Linked DNA regions of Homo sapiens: region 2 is linked to region 1. Evidence: promoter capture Hi-C in 16 types of primary human blood cells and fetal thymus (Javierre and others, 2016). All regions are on one chromosome and are shown on one strand. The core of a region is centred on a gene start or on the middle of the fragment in contact, and the rest is flanking DNA. Distances in the headings are between cores, read along the strand shown. Region 1 holds the start of OXSM (3-oxoacyl-ACP synthase, mitochondrial). Region 2 overlaps TGFBR2 (transforming growth factor beta receptor 2).

Evidence for each region. Contacts are between HindIII fragments. The CHiCAGO score rates a contact against its expected background, and 5 or more counts as called.
Region 2: a contact is called between a fragment that was not itself captured here and the fragment with the promoter of OXSM in region 1, in 1 of 17 cell types (naive CD8 T cells). The highest score is 11.6, in naive CD8 T cells.

Annotation. Positions count from the first base shown.
Region 1 is chr3:25,785,968-25,791,489 of GRCh38, reverse strand. OXSM (3-oxoacyl-ACP synthase, mitochondrial) reads right to left here and starts at 1,400. Exons shown (of 3, transcript NM_017897.3): 1 at 1,343-1,400; 2 at 1-500. The coding sequence starts at 469. It also overlaps a transcript of NGLY1 not described here. RefSeq lists enhancers at 1,103-1,172, 1,183-1,252, 1,392-1,921 and a silencer at 1,355-1,574. The HindIII fragment of the contact is 1,038 bases long and covers 1,029-2,066 here.
Region 2 is chr3:30,655,739-30,661,260 of GRCh38, reverse strand. The region is part of intron 3 of TGFBR2 (transforming growth factor beta receptor 2); the gene reads right to left. Among named protein-coding and RNA genes, the nearest start is that of TGFBR2, 52 kb to the right of the region's middle. The HindIII fragment of the contact is 1,257 bases long and covers 1,778-3,034 here.

The DNA.
Region 1 (5,522 bases), core at 151-2,650:
GAGGAATCATTCCCATGCCAATTGCAACACCAGTAGCCACTTGATCAGCTTCTGACTGAGGATGCCAGCCAGAATCCTTCATGGCTAATTCTGCAGCCCCAATGGCCATGATGGTGGGAGAAGACATGGACTTGATATCTGATTTGGACACAAAGTTTTGTTCATTGAACTGACCTTCATCACTACCTCTTGGCACATAAGCAGCAACACTGCAAGGGATACTCTTATACTCTTCACCAACCAGTGAAACAATTCCACTCTCTCCTCCGATAAGACGATCCCAAACCAGGTGAGTTCCAACACCAAGAGGAGTCACTAAGCCAATGCCTGTAATGACAACTCGCCTATGCAATCTGGATATTGGCACAGTTCCGAAAAACTTCCTTTTACTTCTTAACTGTTGGCATAATCTTGAACATAGAAGACGAGTGCTTGTAATTTTCAGGAAATTTTGCAGGCAGTTGGACATGATTAAGATTCAGATGATCAGAAACACATTCCTGTAAAAGACCACAACACACCTAGGAGGTATTCTTTTAAATAGCTTAAGGGCCTAAGGAAAAACATCCAAGGTGTTCCTTTGGGTGCTTGATATGAGCTGCTAATGAACACAGGGAAAATGTTACATACTTTCAATTTATACCTTAACATCAAACTATCTGTTTAAACTTACCTTCTTTTTTAGACCTTAAGTGCCGTCAGACATTTGAAGACAAATAAATGAATTGATGATTCATTCGAGTCACCAAAACAGTAATTCAATGAAAAATATAAAGGCACCTCCAGCCTGATTTGAGCTGCAGGAAGCATCCTTTGTCAGGATTACTGATAACTTCTTCTAAATAGCATTTCTGGTGTCAGTGGCACAGAAAACACATTTCAGGGCATATTCTTTTAAGTAAGTAAGTGGGCTTTATCAATCTTCAGTACTTAAGGATAACCAGCCTTTTCAAAACGCTACCCAGGGCCAAGAGCCCTAGACTGAGCGTCTGGATACATGGGTTGGCAATACACTCTGTGACCAAGCTTGCGATGGGGGAAGGGGACAAGTCTTTCCACTCCTCTAAACTTCTCCAATTGAATCATTGGTGGAAGGAGGGGTTACGACTAGTGGATCACTTCAAGGGTACTACGAAGGCCAGGGGCGGGAGTAAAAGAGTGTAGCCATTCCCTGTATCGCCTCTCAGGCACCACCACACATGTACACAGCCCGAAGAAGCATGGCGAGAGAAAAAGAAATCAGGCCCCAGGTCCTCGGACTCCCCTCTCGAAATTCAACCCCGACTTGATTTGAATGTAAAGGAGGAAAGGAGGGGCGAAGGAGGAGGGTAGCCAGCGATACCTGTAACGGGGCTACCCCGGACACTTCTCCACAGTCGGGGGCGATGACGCTCTCGAGCGCACGCGCACACGCACGTACGCTCATGCGCGCTCGCACGTACGCTCATGCGCTTTCCCACGCACGCGTCCCGTTCGACTCTCTTTCCGCCGGTTGACTTTAAGCCGCGTCACCTTGGCTGAGGTCAGACCGTGGGAGGCGGCTGGGTAGCTGTTTGCGTGAGCAGAGACGCCCCTCTCGGAACCTCAGTGACTCGCCGATAATCGAGGACCTGCCAATAACGCGATGAGGTAGCATTTTCACCCATCAAAAAGGCATTTTTCTTTGGCAGTGATAATGCCCAAATATTCCCTTTTGTCGGAGAAGGGACACCATCGTATTCTACTGGAATTGTAAGAAAGAATTAAGGAAATTCTCTGCAGTTTCAAAGTTATTGCTATAGCTCGCAACGTTATTAGTAATTGTGAGTAAAGTGGAATTAACCAAAATGGCCAACATCAGGAAATTTGTTGTGTATCTTGTGGTACATCCAAATGCCATGCAGCCGTTTAAAATAATTCTGCAGGTGAATATTTATTAATGAGATGTTGCGACTATTTGTTAGGAGACATAGTTACAAAACAGTATATATCCGTTTTTTCAAAAATAATTCTTTAAAGGTCTGCAAGATGTATACTGATTGTGATCTTTCCCTCCTTATTTTTGCTTAGCTTTATTTAATAAAGCTTTTCTACAATAAACAAATGTTTTTGTAATAAAGTTTTTACTTTTTAAAAGTTGTCACCAGGCTGTTCTGCCTATGGAGTAGTCATTCTTTGTTCCTTTACTTTCCTAATAAACTTCCTTTCACTTAAAAAAAAATTATCACCAGATTTGAGACAGTGCTCAAAAATTGTCTCCATTGTCACAATGGAGACATTTGTTTCTAAGTGTGAAAAATTCATTAACTGTTTGCTTAGAGCTGACTGCAAACCGATAAAGGGAAAATATAACATGAAAATGTAAAAAAGCAAGAAGTCGACAAGATGGTATTCATCGAACATCTGTTTTTCACATGCTATCCCAGGCGTGAGTTTTGTCCTTGCTCTTCTTTAGAAAAATGGTTGAGCATAGAATCTTCATCTGGACCTTCTAGTCATATTTATGGTTTTTTCTGGGCAATGCCTCTTGAAGCCATTGTTTCCAAGTAGAGTGCTCTGCATTCTTTCCTACCCCTACAGAAGAATGTGAGTCAAGCTTAGCTTTCCAGGTTGGTCCTGGATTTAAATGAGTTTGGAAATCTATTTTGTTTAAAATAATTCAGCAAAGCTCAGTTTGACCTTCGTCCCAGGCCTAACCAGTCACCTCTAGTTGATCCTCATTCAGTGACAAAGTAGAGTTTCTTGAAGAATTAAAACAAACACATGTGGTTATAAAGTAACACTTGATGAGTAAGTACCTAAACTTGATCTCTTTTCATTGCTGTCTTTAAAATAATAGTGTGAAAATACCTACAATATTTTCTCTGAAGCTGAACTCATAAGAAACATACAGTTTTAATGTGCTATTTCTTTTGTAATATCACAAAATCGTCTTGGCTAAGAGGTGACAAAATCTTTCAGAAAAATAAAAAGACCATCATTTTTGTATCTACCTCTTATCACCTTTTCTTTGATCTGGAAAAGGGTGGGAAATTTTATGATATTTAATGGCTTTACATATTTGGTACCATATTTCCTGCTACAATTCCATCGTGTCTTCTTGCACCAAAATCTTCAAATGGGCTCTGCTTATCCTACCCTCCTATTAAGACTTCCTAGGTTTGCCTTAAATTCTTTGTAATCTGATTCAAAACTATCTTTCCAATTATGGCTCCCATTCTCTATTAAATGAGCTTGCCACCCAGCAAACTGATTTTCTCACTATACATGTCTTGATTGACCCTAACTTTTCTCATCTCTGTGCTTTTGCTATTTTCAACAACCACTCATTTTCTTCCTATCAATGCTTGAAGTTTGAATGCAAAAATGAGTAGAGGTATGGCTCTTGCTTTCAAGAAGTTTATGGTCTAGTAAAGGGAGACACCCATAGAAACAAGTAAGTGCAAACTGTTGAAACAGGTGCTATAGTGGAATTATTATAACACAAAAGGGACAATGAGGTCTGTGCTACCTCGTAAAGTCAGAAAAGGCTTCAGAGAAATGATCCTTGAACTGCATCTTGGAAATGAATGTTTGTCTAGTAAATTGGGTGGGAAAGGGCATCCTGGCAGGAGGAGAACAAAGGCCTGGAGAAATGAAGTGTCATGGTATCTTCCACAAACAGCTAAATATGTGGCCCATGTCAAATTTGAAGTGTGGGACAAAGCAACAGTAAACGCATGAGAGTAAGGCAGGGCCCAGATCACAAAAGCCTGGGGTATCATACTGAGGACTTTGGATTTAATCCCGTAGTTCAGAGACCATATGCTAGCCTTCATGGTATAATTTGGAGTGCAACATTCTTTTATTGATTCTAAACTCCTCTAGAAAGGACATGGTAAACTCTCTCATTCCCTTCACTGGAGTCTCTCTTACTCCTCTTTGTCTTGAACAAAGCCACTTAAAATATTTAACTTACCAGCCTGGTTCCTGACACCATTTGACTTTAGAATGTGGATAGAGGGAGCCATAGAAAACTTTTTACCAGGAGAACAACATGATCAGATGGGTGCTTTAGAAAGATCACTATTGCACAAATGAGCAGGGTGGGTTGGAAGGATGTGGAAATGGACACAGGGAAGAAAGTTAAGAATGGATGAAACACGAGGCTCTGAAGGCAATGGCAAGGAGAGATCCAGGAGATGTTGAGAAGGAAACGTTACTAGGATATTGTACATGATTTAAGGAGGGTGGGGAGTCTCTCACAGGTAGCAAGTCCTCTCCTTTCTCACCTTCTCAACCTCTCAATTTAAGGCTTCTGTTCAAGTTGTCCCCCCTCACTGAAACTGCAGCCCACAGTGAAATTTTCCTCCCTCTAAACTAGTAGTTCTCAAAGTTTACTGTTAATCAAAATCACCTGAAGGGCTTGTTACCACACAGATTGCTGGGTCCCACCTTTAAATGTGGAGCTTCAGAATTTGTTTTTCTGACAAGTTTCCTGCTGATGCTGCTGTTGCTTGTCCAACCACTGCTCTAAACTTATGACTTCTATGAAAGTAGGGACCATACTTGTCTCCTTCACAGTGCTGAGCAACTAGTAGTCACTTCATAAATACATGATGAATGAATGAATTATGGAATGAATAAATCAACATTTATCCTTACATTTGATAGTACACATGCACTTTTTGTGCATTTCTCACCAAATGACTTTTGCGAAAACCAATGCCATAGCATTAATATTGTGATAACAATGTACAGTCCATAAAATCATGGAAATCACCATTTTAAAAAAATCATCTGAAATTTAAGTCCTTCCAAATAACTCTTTAGCAACACTTCTGTTAAAGTTCTTGAGTAACTGTAATCTCTTTTGAATATTGCCATTTATAAAGCTATTAAGGGAATCCATTATATAAAGGGACTTGGTCTCTCATTTTCCTGGCTGCTTCCCCCACTTCAGTCAAGTTGGAGATATTCTAATTCTTCCATTTCCTTTAGAAAAGCTGAATAAGCTACCCTAACTTTTATACCCATCGTTGTTTCAAACAACCAAAGAATGGGTACTAAATCAGCATTGAAATTCTTGTTCTTTTATTTATTTATTTTTGTTCCAAAATAAAGATTTTTTTTTTCCCCAGGATTTCACCTTTATTAAAAACATCATTTTTAGAGTTGACATATCATGGCGCTATTCTTTTTTTTTTTTGAGGTAGAGTCCCGCTCTGTCACCCAGGCTGGAGTGCAGTAGGGCAACCTCAGCTCACTGCAACCTCTGCCTCCTGGGTTCAAGCGATTCTCCTGCCTCTCAGCCTCCCAAGTAGCTGGGACTCCAGGTGTGCACTAACACGCCTGGCTAACACTATTCTTTAATAAAACAAAAAAGAAAGAACTCTGTAAATTTTCCCCACGATTGGTTTGGTGATATTAAAAAGTTAACCTCCATAAAAACCATTAGCAAGGGGAGGAGTTGAAGTCTTTCAGGAATTTGTATAGTGATTCACTATTGTGTGACTACATTGAGTGATTAACCAACAACTCTATTCAGTACCTGCTGTGTGCAA
Region 2 (5,522 bases), core at 1,157-3,656, 4.9 Mb before region 1:
TTTTTTTTCATTTTCTTTTCTGTGTTATTGCAGTTTTCTGACTACTAAAAGCTTAGGTTTTGTTAGGATCCCCACACCTGCCCTGATTCTTTAATTCTTTTTCTGGCTGGCTGTCTGAATTACACCTTGTACTCTGTCTAGGGGCCCTCATGTTCTCAGGAAACCTGAAAGCAAGGTACATTTCTTAAGTTATTTCAGGATGCTCTCCAACAGGGAGACCAGATCGCTTTGGAAAAGCATATTCATTATTCACAATACCTGTTAGGTCACCAGAATACATCCTCTCTCTCTCCCTGGCTTTCCAGGTGAACCACAGGCTTCTGCAATTCCTTCCCACCTGAGTTTCTCACCTCCTAAAATCATGCACACAGCCTCCCTGGTCCCTGCCTTGTCTCTGCCAAGGCAGTAGCACCCAAACCTTGCCATCCAACCTTTTGGACACATTAAGGTTTAAAATGTGCTTTCCTTTAACGTATAATTTAATCAGTTTTAAAAGCTAAGATGCCTATTCCCAATGAGGCCGTTGACCTTGTTCCAAAGCAATTGCTTGTAAATTGTTGTAGAAAACAAAATAATATCCCCTCTTAAAGTGTCTTGCTATTCCTCCAAGGATGGGGTAAAACAGGTGTTGGTTTTTCTCCTCCTCTAACCTTCGAAGGCATAATTTTGGCTCCTTCCTGTGGTAGCTGCCATTCTTTAATTGTTACCGTCCCTTTCCAGGCTACAGGGGGAACGTGACGAAAAATATAAAAAGATTTGGCAGAACAAACTGTCTTGAGTCCAGTGGTTCCCAATGTGGGCTGCATATTAAAATATCTTGAAGAATTAAAAAATAATTCCTGATACCAGGCCCCAGACCAATTAAGTCAGAAACTGCAGGAGTAAGACCCAGTTAATGAGTAGTTTTTAAAGCTACTCAGGTGTTTCCAATGTGCAGCCAAGCCTAAGCATAACTACATCAGCCTGGTGGAAGAAACAGGTATTTCGAATAGGATGGGGCCTGGAAAATGAAAGACATGGGAATAATTTTAATGACTACATTTCAGAGAAATTGTTCTTGACATTGGAACCAACTATATCCTCTAATTAGGCAACAAAAGGCATATATATGTATATTTTTAAAAGTAGATAAGCAAATATAAATTATTTCTCTAAAAGTTAACATGTTTTTAAAAAAAAGCATAATTTGTAATGGCAAAATTGATATTTTCCACAACAGGTAACATGCAGGAGCGATTTAGAATACAAAAGGACTTTCCAAAGGCAAGTCATCCAGATGTCCAAATGGTGGTGAATACAGCCTCTGGAGTATACGTGGGTGGAAATAAAAGTCAATTTCACAGTGGTTAGCCACCTCCCTGAGCCTTTTTTTTCCCCTGGTGGGACACTGAGACACTCGCAAAGCAGCAAAAGGTCTCAGTGGACCCTTCTTGCCATTACTCATGGGTGTGGAGTTTATGGAACACATGGAGGCCGCAGTGGGAGAGACCTGAGGCTGCAGAGGAACCACCCGAACCTTGCTACAGCACCAGCAGTATGGGTCCGACTGCTTTCTTGGCCACTCATATCCAGTGGATGGAATTTGAGACAGCCTGTGTCCATACTAGATTCCACTCTGCTGATTCATACCAGAATGAGGTTCTAGAGTACAAATATTCACAACCAGAAAGCACATCTGGCCTCAGTGCAGCTTTGTTTACTTTGCTACTTAGGAAAAAAAAAAATCTTGAAAAGCGAGTTGCTTTTGCCTTAATTCAGTTCAAATACATTCTAAGCTTCCTTCAACTGAGTCACAGTGTCCTCTATCATGCAAAATCTTTATTATTTCCTTGGCCAGACATAGGGCCATATTGATGAATTCCAAGTGTGCTTTCTAACCAAGGCTGGTTCACAACAAAAAGCTGCTTCAGCTCTGAGTCATCACCTCAAATAACTGATTTCTCTTCTCAGGAATGAGACTAGCAACTTTAATCCATAATTTTCTTCCTCTTCTAACAACTTTTCTCAACCATATTTCCACACTTATTTTTTCTTCTGCATTTAGACCAGAAAGTAAATCTGGTTTGTTTCTTTTGAAACAAAAATGCACAGCTGGAAAGCCAGCTATTTTGAGGCGTGAGTGCACAGTTCCAAGGCAGCATACCTAAAATCCCCCAGAGCTACCAAAACACCATTTACTCTTTTCATTTCTTACATGCAAGAACTAATCATTTCCCCAAGAAGCCAGCTCCCTGGTGTTGGAGCTGAACAAACATAAAATGAGATTTGGGAGAAAGAGGGCAGCATTTCTAAGACTTCCCTTACTCGGAAAACAACGGAAGTCAACAAAATGCTCAATGCATGCGATCAGTACACAGAGTGGGTTTGCTGGATGGTGTAAAGCAACGACATTAAGGACACAATGGGTCCAGAGGGAACCAGCTGGCTGAGATGTTCTGCTAGCAAGTTAAACATAGACAGGAAACCGCGTGTCTGATACTGTAAAAAAATAATTTGTCTTCCTGCCAGAGATAGGCTAGCAAACCAAAAAGGCTGTTTTCACTTAAAAGAAATGCTACAACAATGAGAGAGGAAGGAATGAAACTTTGTGGCTACAAGAAGTCTTCTTCTCTGCCCCTCTCTCAACATCTCAGGTTAGAGGGCACACATCACCACACTAAATGCTAAAGCCTGCACATAGCTTGCGAGTCAGCAACGTGCACCACTGGGCATACATCTTATGGTCTGCTTCCCTATTTAACCACATAGATTGAACTTTGAGTCAGAAGTGGTTACTCAAGTCCTGGTTTCTAAGCTAGCAAGATATAATTGATTTATTTACTTACAGTCCTATCCCATTCCCAAAAACAACAACAACGACAACAACAAAAAACACAGTGAAAGAAGATACAGTCAAGACAGGAGCTATAATTATGACAAATGGAATATAAATGTGAGAAAACAGGGTAAAAACTGGTAAGCAAGAGTGATATTAGTATGCTAAATGTGTAGGTACATATTTGCTAGAAGCATGATTCAGATTTGACTCTAAGCTTTTCTGGTAGTTAGCATTTGAGAGAGAAACACAAAAACCATGAATATCTCTATCAGGGGTTGGCCTGAGCCCTGTTTTTGTAAATGAAGTTGTACTGGAACACAGCCACGTCCAATCACTTACACACTGTCTGTGGCTGCTACCACAGAAGAGTTGAGTAGCTGTGACAGAGACTCTGCCCTGCAAAGCTGAAAATATTTACTATCTTGCCTGTTATCAAAGAAGTTTGCAGACCCCTGCTCGGTATGCTTCAAAGTGTCCTTAAGATCAGAGGCAAACAGGTCGTCATGAGGAGAACACCTTTCTAAAACAGAGAGCCAAAATAAATGTCTCCTGGCTTCCTCATGAAGATAACAATACAATGCAGTGAACAGCATCCTCCACATTCTTTACAGTAAACATACCACTTTGATTCACAGGACTCCTTATAATGGGGAGCACCTCAATAGGACTCAGGTGGAGGAATTTGCAGGGAAGAGGAGAATACATGACGTTGGTACAAATCTCCTCACTCATCCAGCTAAAGGCAAAGATAAGAAATTTGAATCTAGTGGAACAGTAATAACTATTTACAGTCAAAATTCATTAAGTGCTCACTCTGTGCCAGGTGCCGTGCCAAGTTCTCTACATAAATAAATACATTTATCCTCAAAATAATCCTATTAAAAGTATTCATTATTTCTACTCCCATTTTTCAGAGAGGTAAACAAGTAGTTACCCCAAGAACCAAGAGCTTACACACGGCTGAGCTGGGATCTGAACACAGGCAATCAGCAGGGAAGCCATGCTCTCAGCCCTGCCCTCTGTTGTCTTCCCAACAGATGAGCATCTTACTGGCCATCGTTTATACACATCATTTCTCACGGACATGGAAACAGTGTCAGCCTGAGGTTGTGCCTCTTGCCAAGGACATGCTCAGTGATGGGTCTGGGCTGCCGTTTGGCAAACAGAACAGGTAGCCTCTTATGTAAGTTGTGCAGCCTCCCATGGGTTAAGACTGATAAAAAAGCAAACACACCACCACCACGGGAATGTGGAAGGGTAAGGGTATTCCTTCTATAAGAGACAAGATTATCTGGTTCTTCTATGATTCTCCTACGGACAAAAAGTGAGGAACAAACTATGAGATCTTGGAAAATCCCAGCTCCTCTCTGGAGACCCACTTTTTTGTCATTAAAATGAGAAGTCTGGAGGAGCCAATTCACGGGTTTCACTTCATCATAAAAATGTAATGAGTCTATGAAACAAGACAACACACCTGAAAGTAGTTAGCACAGGTGCACACATTCAGAGTAGGCTGCAATCCAAGGCAGCGATCATCACTATAGTTGTTCTATGAGTTCCCACAGCCTAGGCCATGGGCTTGCCACCACCTTGCCTACATTTCAATTGGAAAAGGGGTGGGACCCTGGTCCTGCAAACAAACTACTGAAAGTCTAGGACTTGGGTCCAATGCTATCCCTTTCCTATATGGCCCCAGTGCCTCTCATTTTCTAGAATAAGCAGTTCAGTTCTAAGTTAGCAGGAAAAGCAAGATGGCCAAGATCCAGTCATTTGGGAGCTGGAAGTGGTCCAGCAGCATGCCTCCCTTCATCCTCCTTGGCTTACCATCTTGTTTTCCACGTACCCACCTTCAGCAGACAATCTTAGCAAACAACCCAAGAATGAACTGATTCAGGCCAACTCTTCTTAGAACCACACTATTACTCTCCAGGGCTTTCCAAGGCCACCAAACATCTCCTTCATTGATCCAGTTCAAAACAGTATCTTGTACAATGCATCTTGAAAACATTCGCAAATGTCTTCTTGTTTTGGGAAATATTAAGGGATAGTCCCACAGATAAACTAATACAAATACAATAAACTAACATGAACATGATCACAGAAACAAAAGAAATGCTTACTGAAAAGGTGTCTGATTTTCTCCACATTAAGATCCACACCAGAACAACATTTGTGGAGTATATTTAAAAAATAAACTATTGTCACTGCTGAAAAAGACCCACATGCCACTGGAGAGCTCTGTTACACAAGCTGACTGAGTAAAGTATATTTAGTTCATTTCCAAATGACCAGGCTTTAGACCAAATTTATTCCTCATGGGCCCATTAGCTCAGGGAGTTACCAGCATGAAGTTAATAAGACCTCCATCTCTGGTTCCATCCCTACCTGGTGAGTTCACACCAGTGCTTCTCACACTTCAGTGTGCAAACAAATCACTGAAGGCCTTGTTACAGGCAGATGCTAATGCAATAGGCCCCAGAGGACCCAAGGTTGTGCAGTTCTAATAAGCTCCCGGGTGATCCTGCTGCTGCTGGTCTAGACACTTTCAGTAGCAACGGTTTATACCGTTCAGAAGAGGTATGTGTCTTGGTGTAGAGTGTTCTCGTTAATCAGGGGAAGAAGAAGTAAGAAAGGATGCACCTACTGTGTGCCAGCCACTGTGCTGGGCGCTCCCAAGCATCATCTCCTTAAATCCCACAACAAC